Linked DNA regions of Homo sapiens: region 1 is linked to region 2. Evidence: promoter capture Hi-C in 16 types of primary human blood cells and fetal thymus (Javierre and others, 2016). All regions are on one chromosome and are shown on one strand. Each heading gives the region's core, a stretch centred on a gene start or on the middle of the fragment in contact. The rest is flanking DNA. Distances are from core to core; before and after follow the strand shown. Region 1 overlaps PDPR (pyruvate dehydrogenase phosphatase regulatory subunit). Region 2 holds the start of AARS1 (alanyl-tRNA synthetase 1).

What was found. The method cuts DNA at HindIII sites, captures the fragments that hold promoters and counts their contacts. A CHiCAGO score of 5 or more calls a contact.
Region 1: a contact is called between a fragment that was not itself captured here and the fragment with the promoter of AARS1 in region 2, in 4 of 17 cell types (endothelial precursors, M2 macrophages, megakaryocytes and 1 more). The highest score is 11.9, in endothelial precursors.

The regions. Positions count from the first base shown.
Region 1 is chr16:70,153,701-70,156,697 of GRCh38, reverse strand. It overlaps PDPR (pyruvate dehydrogenase phosphatase regulatory subunit), which reads right to left. Exons shown (of 19, transcript NM_017990.5): 19 at 1-223. LOC400541 (a long non-coding RNA gene) reads left to right here. Exons shown (of 3, transcript NR_126007.1): 3 at 194-358. Among named protein-coding and RNA genes, the nearest start is that of CLEC18C, 19 kb to the left of the region's middle. The HindIII fragment of the contact is 7,311 bases long and covers 1-2,997 here.
Region 2 is chr16:70,288,017-70,291,143 of GRCh38, reverse strand. It overlaps AARS1 (alanyl-tRNA synthetase 1), which reads left to right and starts at 1,638. Exons shown (of 21, transcript NM_001605.3): 1 at 1,638-1,723. It also overlaps a transcript of DDX19B not described here. RefSeq lists a silencer at 2,293-2,422. The HindIII fragment of the contact is 11,417 bases long and covers 1-3,127 here.

The DNA.
Region 1 (2,997 bases), core at 3-2,502, 130 kb after region 2:
AATTGTGCACAAAGCCCAGGCAAACGTGGCGCTCCAGGCTGTAGCTGTAGGCACTGCTGGTGGTCTTGCCAACATACTGCCCATTCCGGTAAATGGGCTCTCCCCACCAAGGCCAAAGGTCTAGGTCTGAATCATGGTCGTCCAGGATGAACATGGTGAGGCGTTTATACACTCCATTCTGCTTCTGCTGCAGGAGGGCGTCGCGACCAATGAAATCCATGCCCTAAGAAAGAAAGGAAACGCCGAGTCATCCAGCGACACTCAGACCCTCGGCACAGAGAGCAGCACCGTGGGAAGGGTCCCCTGGTGTCACTGCAATGGGGCACAGCCGCCTCCTCCCACAACCCTGCCAGCTTTTGGGAAACTGTGCGATTTCTACCATGTGAAAAACTGCATGTGAAATATAAAAGACGCCGCGGTAATTTTTGTAACAACAGAGGTACGCATTTTGTTTCCTATTTTATAAACATAAAGTCACAAGACCAGATAGAACAAAAACGTTTAGGAAGAAAACTCACTCACTTAATAAAATACCTTATCAGTCCAGTACTTTAGAAAAATGTTTTTATATTGGCCAGTCGTGGTGGCTCACGCCTTGAACAGAGATGAGGCAAACCTCATCTCTACTAAAAATACAAAAATAAGCTGGGTGTGGTGGAGTGTGCCTATAGTTCTAGCTACTTGGGAGGCTGAGACAGGAAAATCACTTGAACCTGGGAGGCAGAGGCTGCAGTGAGCCAAGATTCTGGTGGAGTGTGCCTATAATTCTAGGGAGACTGAGACAGGAAAATCGTTTGAACCTGGGTGGCAGAGGCTGCAGTGAGCCAAGATTGCACCACTGCAGTCCAGCCTCGGTTGACACAGCAAAACTCTGTCTCAAAAAAAAAAAAAAAAAGACTTTTTTATATAATCCCAACAAGACCATGCACATCTATATTCAATGCATACACACATATATACACATATGTACAACAAATAAGACTAGAATAAACTATTAACGGTGATTATGGCCAGGCACGGTGGCTCACGCCTGTAATCCCAGCACTTTGGGAGGCTAAGGCGGGGGGATCTCCTGAGGTCAGGAGTTCGAGACCAGCCTGACCAACCTGGAGAAACCCCATCTCTACTAAAAAAAGAAAAAATACAAAAATGCCTTCTCATGCTCAAGTGATTCTCCCACTTCAGCCTCCCAAGTAGCTGGGCCCACAGATGCGCCACCACACCCACCTAATTTTTTGTATTTTGGTAAAGACAAAAAATACAAAATTAGCTGGATGGCTTACAGCTACTCGGGAGACTGAGGCAGGAGAATCGCTTGAAGCCAGGAGGCAGAGATTGCAGTGAGCTGAGATCGCGCCACTGCACTCCAGCCTGGACAACAAGAACGAAACTCCGTCTCAAGAAAGAAAAAAAAAATAGTTACTACCATTAAATAGACAAAATATGGGTGATTTTAATTTCCTTCTTTATATTTTCCAAAATGGGTTATTACCTTTTTTTTTTTTGGAGATGGAGCCTTGCTCTGTCACCCAGGTGGGAGTACAATGGTATGATCTCGGCTCACTGCAACCTCTGCCTCCCAGGTTCAGGCAATTCTCCTGCCTCAGCCTACCGAGTAGCTGGGATTACAGGTGCCTGCCACCATGCCCAGCTAATTTTTATATTTTTAGCAGATACGGGGTTTCACCATGTTGGCCGGGCTGGTCTCGAACTTGTGAACTCAGGTGATCCGCCCAAAACAAAAAAACCAAAAAAATTAGGCCGGGTGTGCTGTCTCACGCCTGTAATCCCAGCACTCTGGGAGGCCGAGGAGGGCGGATCACCTGAGCTCAGGAGTTCGAGACCACCCTGGCCAATGTGGTGAAACTCTGTCTTTACCAAAATACAAAAAAATTAGCTGGGCATGGTTGTGCATCTGTGGTCCCAGCCACTTGGGAGGCTGAAGTGGGAGGATCACTTGAGCATGAGAGGGCATTGCAGTGAGCCAACATCGCGCCACTGCACTCCAACCTGGGTGACAGAATGAGACCCCACCTCAAAATCAAAAACAAAAGAAAAAAACCACAAAAATTAGGCAGCTGACTATAGGACGACTAGTTTGTACAAATATTCGTGGCATGTTAATGCATCACCATAATTAACTCAGAATAGCTTCCCAGAAAGCACTCAGTCTTTTAGACAGCAGAACACTAGAAATAAGTGGGTTTTTTTGTTTGTTTTTCAATTGTAATTCAGAGACAAGGTCTTGCTGTATTGCCCAGGCTGAGCTCAAGTGATCCTCCTGCCTTGGCCTCCCAAAGTGCTAGGATTACAGTTGTGAGCCACCGCACCTGACCAAGTGTCATCTATTTACTATGTTTTCTTTTTTCTGAGACGGAGTCTTGCCCTGTCACACAGGCTGGAGTGCAGTGGTGCGATTTTGGCTCACTGCAACCTCTGCCTGTTAGGTTCAAGTGATTCTCCTGCCTCAGCCTCCCGAGTAGCTGGAACTACAGGTGCTGGCCACCACGCCCAGCTACTTTTTGTAAATTTTTTTTTTTTTGAGACGGAGTCTCGCTCTGTCGCCCAGGCTGGAGTGCAGTGGCGTGATCTCGGCTCACTGCAACCTCTGCCTCCTGGGTTCACGCCATTCTCCTGACTATAGGCGCCCGCAACCACACCCGGCTAATTTTTTGTATTTTTAGTAGAGACGGGGTTTCACTGTGTTAGCTAGGATGATCTCGATCTCCTGAACTTGTGATCCGCCCGCCTTGGCCTCCCAAAGTGTTGGGATTACAGGTGTGAGCCACCGTGCCCGGCCTACTTTTTGTATTTTTAGTAGAGACGGGTTTTGCCATGTTGGCCAGGCTGGTCTCGAACTCCTGACCTCAGGTGATCCACCCGCCTCAGCCTCCCAAAGTGCTGGGATTCAGGCGTGAGCCACCATTATTATGTTTTCATTTGAAGATATTTTATCCTATAAAGTTTTCATTCTCAGGGCACTCTTGTCCTCATTTA
Region 2 (3,127 bases), core at 389-2,888:
AGTGCTCAATAAATGGTAGGTTTGATGATTACTATTTGTGAGCAGCTATGAAGTGGGAAAGTAAATCAAATGATTTATGTTTTTACTGGCTTTTGGGCTTGACCTTCTTTTTGTGTAGGATGCTCTTTTTGCATAAAAAGTAGTATTTTTCTGTATTGTCTGTAACTTGAGTTATGACCAGCAGCACAATTTATTACCCGTGTATTTGGATATATCAGATGATGGAGGTAATAGTGCAGTGGTTAAGAGCATGGGCTTTGGAGTTAAATAGACACAGGTTTGGATCCTGTCTCCACAACTTACTATTGGGTGTGAACTTGTGCAAGGTAATTTCCTCATTTGTAAAAAGGGGACTCCAGCTGACCTCATACACAGTTTAAAAATCAAATGAAATAAGCATGTGAAATGTTTGATGCAATGCCTCACGTATAAATACATACATATTTTTCAGACAGGGCCTCGCTCTGTCGCCCAAGGAATGCAGTGTCACGATCAGGGCTCACTGCAGCCTCAACTTCCTAGGCTCAAGTGATCCTCCCACTTCAACCTCCCAAGTAGCTGGGACTACAAGCATGCGCCACTATGCCTGGCTAATTTTTATTTTTTATTTTTTTTTTTGAGACGGAGTCTTGCTCCGTAGCCAGGCTGGAGTGCAGTGGCGCCATCTCGGCTCACCGCAACTTCCGCCTCCCGAGGTCAAGGGATTCCCTTGCCTCAGCCTCCCGAGTGGCTGGGACTACAGATGCGCGCCCGGCTAATTTTGTGTTTTTAGTAGAGACGGGGTTTCACCATGTTGGCCAGGATGCTCTCGGTCTCCTGACCTCGTCATCCGTTGGCCTCAGCCTCCCAAAGTGCTAGGATTACAGGTGTGGGCCACCGCGCCCGGCCTTTTAAAAAATTTTTCGTAGAGACAGGGTCTAGTTATGTTGACCAGGCTGGTCTCCAACTCCTGGGTTCAGGTGATCTTCCCACCTTGGCCTCCCAAAGTGTTGCAATTATAGGCGTGAGCCACCGCACCTGGCATGTATATATGTATATGTATATATATATATTCACCCTCCTCCCCCAGGCCTATAAATATTAACTTTTTTTTTTCCAAAGGCAAATCGAGGACCAGATGCTGATCCAATCGTACCTGAACTACTGATGTTATTTCTTCCACACCAAATTCAAGGTCTCCCCCGGACAAGTGTAACCATGGGCACAATGTCAGACTCTTTGAGGGCTGTGTATCACTCAGCAACTAAAATAAACAACTATAGCAAGATATGTAACCTCTACCAAACACGTTACCGTCTCCCCTTTTTAACTATGTCAATTGTGGTGTTAGGACTTTGCCTATGGAAACCAAAATGTCGACCTCCGGGAGCCGGGGGCGGGGGGGGGCGGGGGGGGCGGGGGGGGGTCTAACTCGATCATGTGACGCACCCCATCCCACCTTTTCTCGCAGTTGCATCAGCCAAGTTAGAGCCGCCTTCCCAGGAATCCACTAATGAACGGATTCGTCCTCAGTTTGACTGGCATGTTGGTTGACCAATAATATCTCATGAGGTAAGGCGCGGCGGGGCACTTTCCGTCGGCGCGCTCTGATTGGACGGAGCGTGGCGGGTTGTGGTAGGTCGTGGTCTGAGGCCGGTACAGCTGCGCGTCTGCGGGAATAGGTGCAGCGGGCCCTTGGCGGGGGACTCTGAGGGAGGAGCTGGGGACGGCGACCCTAGGAGAGGTAGGCCGCCCTCGGAGAGCTCTGCGGTGCTAGGAGAGCGGCTGGGCCCGCAGACTGGGGGGAAAGCTCCGCAGCCGCAGTGGGCCCCAGGATCAGGCCCCGCGTGGCCTGGAGAAGCCCAGTCTGGGCTGGAGCGGGAGCTGGACAGTGTGGCCTTGCGTTCGCCCCCGGGAGCGCTGCGAGTGTCGCGGCCTCGGGTGGATTTGCTGAGCACCAATACCTCACGGTTGCCAACCTGGGGTTTTAGCTCCCTTGGTTTTAATCCCCTAGGGGCGGGTGGGGGCACGGGAGGAAGGATGGGCCAGCTGGGTGCAATCCTGCTGTAAGCCAGCCATTCCTTGATTTCTTAAAATTAACTAAACAGCTGATGCCGGTCCAGGCGCACCGAGACCGTCATCTTAAGCTGTTCTGTAAAACAGTTTGTATTTCTCGGTGTGCTTTGAAGCATGTGAGTTAATTCCGAACTTGGTGTTAAAGGATTAGTATACCTGATCACGAAATACGTATTTAGCAGCCACTGTACTAGATGCTGAGGATGTGCTGTAATAGCCCAGGGCCAGGCGCGGAGGCTCACGCCTGTAATCCCAGCGCTTTGGGAGGTCGAGGCGGGCGGATCACCTGAGGTCAGGGGTTCGAGACTAGCCTGGCCAACATGGTGAAACCCCGTCTTTACTAAAAATACAAAAATTAGCCGAGCGTGGCGGCGCGCGCCTGTACTCTCAGCCACTCCGGAGGCTGAGGCATGAGAATCGCTTGAACCCGGCAGGCGGAGGTTGCAGTGAGCTGAGATCACACCATTGCACTCCAGCCTGGGTGACAGAGGGAGACTCCGTTTCAAAAAAAAAAAAAAAAAAAGAGCCCAGAACAGTCGTTGCTGCTGGGATGGAACTGACAGCCTGATGGGGGAGGCGCACATTAAACAATCCATGAAGCGCGTATGGAAATTATGAAGGGAAACACTTGAGGCTGTGAGACAGTAAAAGAGGGGGAGCCTTATCAAGAAGGGGAAGGCGGCCGGGCGCGGTGGCTCACGCCTGTAATCCCAGCACTTGGGGAGGCCGAGGTGGGCAGATCACGAGGTCAGGAGATTGAGACCATCCTGGCTAACACGGTGAAACCCCATCTCTACCAAATATACAAAAATAGCCGGGCGTGGTGACTGGCGCCCGTAGTCCCAGTAGTCCCAGCTACTCGGGAGGCTGAGGCAGGAGAATGGCGTGAACCCGGGAGGCGGAGCTTGCAGTGAGCTGAGATCGCGCCACTGCACTCCAGCCTGCGCAACAGAGCGAGACTCCGTCTCAAAAAAAAAAAAAAAAAAAAAAGAAGAAGGGGAAGGCTGTCTTAAATAAGTGTCTTGGCCGGGCGCGGTAGCTCACCCCTGTAATCCCAGCACTTTGGGAGGCC